Linked DNA regions of Homo sapiens: all the other regions are linked to region 3. Evidence: promoter capture Hi-C in 16 types of primary human blood cells and fetal thymus (Javierre and others, 2016). All regions are on one chromosome and are shown on one strand. The core of a region is centred on a gene start or on the middle of the fragment in contact, and the rest is flanking DNA. Distances in the headings are between cores, read along the strand shown.

What was found. The method cuts DNA at HindIII sites, captures the fragments that hold promoters and counts their contacts. A CHiCAGO score of 5 or more calls a contact.
Region 1: the fragment with the promoter of ASCC3 here is called in contact with the fragment with the promoter of HSF2 in region 3 in 3 of 17 cell types (non-activated CD4 T cells, activated CD4 T cells and total CD4 T cells); the score reaches 6.6 in non-activated CD4 T cells.
Region 2: the fragment with the promoter of TFB1M here is called in contact with the fragment with the promoter of HSF2 in region 3 in 1 of 17 cell types (total CD4 T cells); the score reaches 5.2 in total CD4 T cells.

The regions. Positions count from the first base shown.
Region 1 is chr6:100,880,001-100,882,700 of GRCh38, reverse strand. ASCC3 (activating signal cointegrator 1 complex subunit 3) reads left to right here and starts at 1,372. Exons shown (of 42, transcript NM_006828.4): 1 at 1,372-1,640. LOC107984041 (a long non-coding RNA gene) reads right to left here and starts at 1,244. Exons shown (of 8, transcript XR_007059692.1): 1 at 1,047-1,244. RefSeq lists an enhancer at 1,409-1,528. The HindIII fragment of the contact is 1,558 bases long and covers 892-2,449 here.
Region 2 is chr6:155,313,069-155,315,773 of GRCh38, reverse strand. TFB1M (transcription factor B1, mitochondrial) reads left to right here and starts at 1,290. Exons shown (of 7, transcript NM_016020.4): 1 at 1,290-1,478. The coding sequence starts at 1,346. RefSeq lists enhancers at 476-525, 1,076-1,125, 207-1,197, 1,196-1,515 and a silencer at 946-1,025. The HindIII fragment of the contact is 4,007 bases long and covers 1-2,705 here.
Region 3 is chr6:122,398,340-122,401,039 of GRCh38, reverse strand. HSF2 (heat shock transcription factor 2) reads right to left here and starts at 1,388. Exons shown (of 13, transcript NM_004506.4): 1 at 1,210-1,388. The coding sequence starts at 1,302. RefSeq lists silencers at 943-1,062, 1,333-1,652 and an enhancer at 593-1,092. The HindIII fragment of the contact is 3,471 bases long and covers 1-2,700 here.

The sequences.
Region 1 (2,700 bases), core at 123-2,622, about 22 Mb after region 3:
AGCACTTATCAGCACCTCTCATTATCACTTGGCCTCCTTGCATTATTTATTTTTGTGATGCATTTGTCTTGTCTCATGAACTAACTTGTAAACTCTATGAAGTCCAGGACCAAAGACACATGTAATCTCAAGACTGGAAATATCTTTAACAAAACCATCAACTAATTATTCTGTTGATGTGTGGCTCCCCTGTACCAAGTCCCTATTAAGTGAGCTTCAGAATCTCCTTGAAGCAAAATTCTGTGGTTGAGGTATTCACACATGCTAAGGTAGGCAATTCTTTGGGTCGTGCTACAAGGGCATCTTCTTTTCAGGATCTTAAATCTGTTCCCTGAAGTTTGCATCACATGAAACAAATCAACTTCACATGATAGGTCATTTCATATTTGGAGAGAGTCCAGTAGTTTTCTCTCTTCTAGGTGAGTCCTGGAAGGTTTAATCAATCCTTCTTCACTTGCCCTGTTTTTGAGTTCTCGTCATCATTTTGCTCTTCCCTGATATAATGCCAGCTTGATTAAAGTCTTCAAATGCTGAACACAGCACTTCAGAGGTGGTCTGACCAGTAAAGACAATAACTGGATCACTATTGGCTGCCTCTACAAAACAGTTCTACCAGGCATCGGGGCACATTACCTTGAGGAAGCGGGAATGGCAGAAGAGAGCCACAACAAACATATTAACTCATACTATCTTTGCATTGTTGGCTTTTAGTCTAGAACTCTTTGCAGATAAACCACACAATTCTTTAGGTTAGTTTTTCTTCGTATCTTCCTATCTTTTCAATCGAGTTAGGGAATCTTTGGGCTTTCTGTTTTTGGAGGAGGTCTTCTGACCGAAGAGCCGACTTGCAGAGATCACTTTGAGGGAACTAAGCTGAGAATCCAGAAAGCTTATGGAAAACAGGCCTTGACACCAGAGAACCATGTATACTCTCTAGCAGCCAGAGGGCTTTGGCTGAAAACGACGATAGCAACTACCTGTTTCTTCATTCAAATTGCTCTCCTTTCCTTTACCTTTAATAGGAATTATTTCCTCCACATATTTACCTTACAGAGAAGGGCGGGGAGAAGACGCGGCAGACTGAAGTAAATGCAGGGAAAAAACTCACAGGTAGAGAGGTAGAGACGGCAGGCCTGGCCCGTTGCGGGCAGCCAGGGTAAAGTGGAGCGTCCCGCTCCCGCCCTGGGGCGCATCCTCGCCGCCGCCGGGACCTTCCGCCTCTGCTCCTCCGAACCCAGCGGACTAGAGGCTGGAGGCGGGAGGCGGAGCGGCGCGCGCACGCGGGCGGGGCAGAGGGCCCGGAGTCGACGAGTCGACGTGCCGACGTTGGCGCTGCAGCGGGGCGGTGACGTGTAGGCCGGCGCCAGCTCCACTCTGTCCCTCCTCGCCGGGTCTGTGCGTCTTTGCGTCTGTCTGTCTGACTGATGGTCCTCACACGCGGTTCCCTGTGACTGGGCGCGACCCCGGCAAGCGCGGCTTGGAGGGCGGACGGGGCGCGGCGATACAGCTGCCCGCTCGCATCTTTGGCCCTGCGCTCAGCTCCTCACCCGGCGTGGGAAGTTAAAGTAAAACCGAAAGGGAAGAAGGCGCGGTGGCAGGAGCTGACAGAGTGATGGGAAACGCGTGAGCCAGGCCGAGAGGTGAGGAGGTGGAGGTGGAGGTGGGAGGACGAGAAGGGTCGCCGCGGCCAGGGGAGCTGGCTGGAGGCGGGGACGGCGAGGCGGGCTACGCGACCCGCCAGAGATTCTCTTCCTGCCTCCGGGGCAAGTCCCGACCTGTCATCCTTTTCAGTGGCATGAGGTCGAGTCCGGGGTCTCGCAACAATACCGCCCATTCCTAGAGTTTGTAGGTGGGGTTGGGGATAGAAAACTTAACCTAAGCTACATATTGTCCAAGTGTTAAGCCACAACGTGACCAGATGAGGTTTTTCTGTCCCATGCATGGGTAATTTGTTTTCTTTTTTTCTGTTACAAAGCCTTGATAACTTCGTTTTCTTCACGTAGATTTGGGGAAAGAAATCTTCCTCATATTTTTCCCCCAACACACTGGAAAGTAAATAGGTAGCTGACCGTGATGGATTGTGGGTGAATTTCGCAATCAAGGAGCCTATAATGTCATTTTGAAATAAATAAATGTGTATGTGGGTGCTAGGGAGGTTTTGTGAGTACTGGGCAGTCATTTCAAATAGGTTTCTTATAAATTAACTTACTCATGGAATGCAGTGTGCTAATGGTATTTGCTATTCTTTGGTTTAAAAGAAGCATAATTCTAGGGGCTGGTAAAAGTTTGATGTGTTGTCACTTGTGCATTCAAACTCATGGTTACATTTTCTTTCTTTCCCTAGGTTAGGTGAGATTGACAGCCATTTTCTCCATCACCAGATTTTATGTTTCATAGATTGAAATCCTTTTTCTGATTCTCAAAGTTCTCAAATGTTGAGAATTAAGCTTTTGGTTTTACTATGGATTGTGCTCCAGTTTATGTTGTCTCTTTTTTTTAATGATGGTTATAATAGTCTTGCATGAGAAAAATGATCCTTAAAGATGCTCTTAAGCTTAGGCTAAATAATCCTATTTATATGAGAAATTAATTTTTCATGGTTCAGCTTTCTTGATCCCTGCTTAACAGTTTTTTGTCATTCATTCATTCAAGTCTTCCTATGTGTCAAACGCTGGGCTAGGCCTAGGAGAGCAAGAGAGA
Region 2 (2,705 bases), core at 41-2,540, about 33 Mb before region 3:
TCAAATGACCTCACCTCCCCTATTTCTTCACAGCAAACTAAGAATAATAATCTCATTCACATGGGACCATTGTGAGGAGTACGGGAAATAATGAATATAACTGTGAAATAATGCTTTGTCAGGTATACTGTGTTTTGGACGATAAGATATCTGAATCAAGAGTTTGTACTTCCAGTCTACATTTTGATGCCACGTTGGGCAAATCTCCTTACCTCTATGGTAGTCATCACTATTTTTTAAAGCTAGGAGATTATCTCAGTTCCTTTTAAAACAGCTTTTATAGAAGGTGGTTGAGTTTTCCACTGGAATTTCAAAGTACTCCTCATTTTTATATCCATACCCATAGTTGTTTCGTTTTCCATTAGCTTTTTTAAAAACTTACTAATTGAGGAACAGAAACTTTAAAATTCATTTGTGATCAACGCAGCAATGTCCAAACATAAGCAGGGTTAAAACAGCAAAATTCTCCCACCTATCAGAGAAACTTTAATTTTTTTTTTTTTTTGCTTCGTTGTTTTTATCTCGTATAACGGAAAGACAGAACTCATATTTCAGTCTTCTCTCTGTTCTTAGCTGTAATCCTAGCAAATCGAATGACCTCTTTACACTGGCCAATTATTCATCTGCCAAATAATAACAGCCACCACTGATCACGTGGGAGCTTACCCAATGCCATGCGTGCACTATGTTCTGAACGTGCACACCAGGCGATCTCTCTCATTTAGTGCTCACAATTTTGAGGTAGACATTAGCTCCATTTAACTGATGAAAAAACTGAGGCTGAACGAAGTTAAAAACCCATCATGCAGCATCTGCAGAGCGGCGGTTCTAAAAACGCCTCACAGTAAGAAAGAATTGCTAACAAACAGTAGCTTTGCCTCTAAGCACCCGCTTTTCCTCTAATATTCACAGACAGGTATTTAGAACGTTAAAGAGCCGGAAGCCCTTGGGAACTTCAGGGCGGGAGTAAACCGGCTGCACCTCTCAGAGCAACTCCTCCGAAAAACCCCACCCTGTCCAGGCCCCGCCTCGTCCCGCCCTCCTGGGCGCTCTCCCCATAGCCCGCCCAGGAGAAGCCTAGTCCACCCGGCTCTCCCCCGGCTCTCACAGGCGGAAGCCGCCGACCACCCAGCCTGCCCTTCTCGCGGCAGGACTTAGCGCATGCGCTCTCAGCACGCCGGGAATTTCCTGTCCGCGGTCATCGCTTCCGGTGGGATAGGTCTGACCAATGGGGCTGACTCCGAGGCGGGCCTTAGGTCTCGCAGGTTCCTCCCCTGCGCGTTTCTTTCGGAGCGGCGGTGAAGGTCCTGGGTGAGGTAGGGTTGGATGGTGCTTGCCGCGTATCATGGCTGCCTCCGGAAAACTCAGCACTTGCCGTCTCCCTCCGTTGCCCACGATTCGAGAAATCATTAAGTTGTTAAGACTGCAAGCAGCGAAGCAGCTATCACAGAATTTCCTCCTGGACTTGAGGCTGACAGGTGGATGGCTTAGCAGTGCTCCCCGGATGTCTCCCCAGTGTCCGTGGGGGCGTGGGCCGGGGGGTCTTGCACGTCCCCGCGGGCGGGTGTCCAGGCACTGGCGTGCGACGGGCTTTTGGTCAGGTCCTTCGACCTCTTTGTATCAGAACTCCGGTCCCACCGCCCAGGAGACACGTGAAGTGCGTTGATTGCTCACAAAACTCCGCGTTCGGGGGGGTGTAGCCTGCCGGCAGGCTGCATAAATGCCAAGCTCCCTAGGGGAGGAAGGGTTCATGGGTCGTGAAAGGCGCTAGTGAATATTGGAATCTGGGTCACTGTGAAATCAATCATTCTGAAATAGTACAGCACATGCTGACTGCAGTTGCTTTACATGCAGTTTAAAGTTACCAGAATTTAAATTGATGCGAGGATTTTATCAATAACTTGGTGAAAAGAGTATCCCTCGTATGATTCGTTTTTTAAACGTTTACCTGTTCAGTCTAAGCCTCGGGGGCGCTAATATTCATTCATAAGTACATATTACACAAGCAACATTGTGCTAGTGCCGGGGGTAGGATATGGGCGTGAACAAGGCGGTGTTTCCTCGAGGAGCTTACTTTTAGCAAGTTTACATTCCCACACCTAATTGTTTAAAGTTACTTTTTATGAGATATAATTTATGTGCAATAAAATTAATAAGTTTGAAGTGCTCAATTTGATGAGTTTTGACGAATGTATTTATATATTGGTTTAACCACCATCACCATTGCTTAGTGATGTTCTATGAGATGAGGTTGCAAAAATATATTACAAATACGTCTACTAAGTCACGGCTGGAGTACTTAGGTTTTGAGATTTTCATATTTCATTCTATTTAGTCCCACTTCAGAAGTTGAAAAGAGCAGTAAATCACACCCAAAAAGTTCATTTTCACTTAAATGAAGCACACTCCAGAAAACATAAAATGTTTTATTTCTTGGACATGTAGTCTTTATTCTGCCTGTACCAATATGACTTTGGATAAAATAATTTAACTCAAGTTTTCTCTTTTTTTTTTTTTTCTTTTTTTAAGATGGAGTTTCACTCTTGTTGCCCAAGCTGGAGTGCAATGGCATGATCTCAGCTCACTGCAACCTCCGCCTCCCCGGTTCAAGTGATTCTCGTGCCTCAGCCTCCCAGGTAGCTAGGATTACAGGCGTGAGCCACCGTGCCTAGCTAATTTTGTGTTTTTAGTAAAGACAGGGTTTC
Region 3 (2,700 bases), core at 139-2,638:
TGGTATTACAGAAGTCAAAACTTCAGGGTCTTAATATGGTGCTCACTCCCTGTTAAGACAAAAGTAAATAAAACTAAGAGTTCCTATAATAGGAGAACAGGAAAGAAAGGAGGACGGGAGATAACATTTACTCAGCACTTAACAGGTGCCAGGCACTATGCAGGTAGTTTTCACTTATTCTTCTCAAGAACTACACATATGAAAATATGCCTCAATAGGTGATCATCTACAATAAGAGTTAACCACTTTCCTTCATAAAAATGATTCCAACAGCCTAGGAGTGTATTCTAATGCACATGCACTGTGGATGTAAATAATCATTCTGCCTAAAATCTTGTATTTGGGACTGATATAGGTCTTGGGTCACCTAGGCAACCCATCCATCTTATGAAAGATTTAACTTAGGCCAGACAAGATAAAGGGCTGGACTAAGGTCATGCTTGTTTAGAAGCAGAGTTGAGATCAAACCAATAATCAACACATCGATATGCCCCTCTGCTGGTAACTGTTCAGCGAAATTTAGTAACTACTAAGTTACCACCTATTAGTACTTTATTAAAACAATCCTAATAATCCCATTATACAAATAGCACAGAATCTCAAAAGAATAATTTGTTAATTTCTATATATTTTTAAAACCAACTGATAAGCAGTAACCTGCGTTTGAACGTATGTCTATTGCCCTGACTGCTCTCCACATAAAGATGCCAGATGCAAAGCAATGTTGGGGGAACTGGGGGTGATCGGTCGCTGAGGTAAAGATCGCCTCCTATAAAGCCCCACGTTGATGATCCTGGCCCTGGGCTCCCTGTCCCCTCCGCGATTTGTAACCCCTGAGCCGGGCGGGAGGACGGAGGATGAGTGTGCAGTAAAGAGGCTCCCGCGCCCTCGGCTCGCCGATTCCCCTCGCGACGCCGGGCCGGTTCCGAACGCGGACCGGACCGTTAAGGGGCTGCCTGGGCCGCTACGCCCCGCGCGGGCCGCCCCTCCCCCACCGCGGCCTGAGGAGAGCGGCGCTGCCGGCCGGGCCCCCGCGGCTCCCCGAGCGAACAATACAGGGGGTCCCCCGCGAGGCTGAACGCCAAGGCCCCGCACCGCGGGCCTCGCAGACAGCGTCGAGCCGCAAGGCCGCGAGAGACCACCCCGCAGGAGAGCGAGTGAGGAGGCGGTTATTCAGGGGGTTCAGAGGCCGCCGTGGCCTGACCGTACCTGGCTCCAGGTGATGAACTCGTTAGTGTGGGTTTCCTCCACAAGCGTCCACAGCTTGCTGAGGAAAGCCGGCACGTTCGAACTCTGCTTCATTGTTAACGCGGCGCAGGGATTCCAAATTCTACACCCGAACGCGGTGGTAGCGGCGGCGGCAGCTACGGCAGCAGCTCCCCGAGAACGCCCACAACGCAGGCGCAGCAGATCTTGGTCCCCGCCCCCCCAACCCCGCCAGGCGCGCGGCAAGGCCGAGAGGCCGGGCGGCCGCACGTGACGGACAAGTCTCCGCGCTCCGCCTGTGCGCGCAGTGGTTCCGCGCCTGTCCCGTCCCTGGCCAATCCCAGGAGCCGACTGCACGACAGAGAAAAGCGATTGGCTGCTGCTGACATGAAGGGGGTGGGAGCAGAAGGGGGTGGGAGCAGAAGGGGGCGCTGCCTCCTCATTTGCCTTTTATACAGAAGCCTTGATGGTAGCAGACTTAGGCTTGGGAGACCGTGTTTGGATGTTTCACGTGGAAACAGCTTATGGTTTCTGGGCTGTGGCTGGGAGGCTACAGAAACCCTTCAGGGCCTTTGAGTCATAAGTTTGGCAGGCAAAGTGTGGTTTGCACCAGTTTAGAGAAAGGATCCATTTGCATAAGGAAAAAACCAGCTCTCAAGCATGATGTGCTAGGCCCCAAATTGAAATTGTCTTAAAAATAATGAAACTTGTTCTTACATTTTCATTGGGAGAAAAAGCCCTCTTTAAAATATGTTTATCAAAAAGAGCAGTTTAAATAACTCACTCTCGATTACTTAAAACTGTAAACCAGGAACTGCAATTGATATATCATGTGCTGTTTTTAATCCAGTCATCAAGTGCCTACTCTGTACCCAGAATAAAAAGAAATAGACTCATTTGTACTATTTTAGTTAATTAAAATAGTTTTTCCTGCGTATACTTTACAGATATAGTCTTTTTTGCCTAAGAGATTGGTATAGTGGAAAAAACAATGGAAAAGGAGTCAGTAGATCTCAGTTTAGATAAAGCCTCTTGGACATTTTTCTGTATATTAAAATACACTGGTTCTGTCATTTAGAACAATTCCTTAGCCACCAGTGCCAGTTTTTTCCATTTCTTGACTGGGAATAAGATCTATCTTTTTACCCACTAAGAGTGTCTTTAATACTATAATGGCTGTGCAAATGCTTTGAAAATATGAAGTCTACAAAATTCGACTTTTTTTTTTTACAAAAGTCAGCATGTGAAGGCAAAAACTTACAAACAAGTCAGAGATAACATACAAAACTTCAACATAGGATTGGTTTACTTCTTGGGTGAATGTAAAATAGTACATTAAATATATATCTATCATTTAATGGAAGATATATGTATATCTCTTCCAATGAGCAAGTATTTAGTGAATGCTGCCTTTGTGCTCAGCACTGGGATGTTGGCTGAAGCAAAATCAGATATATGGAGGCATGCATGTGATAGAGGAAGTAATATTTGATG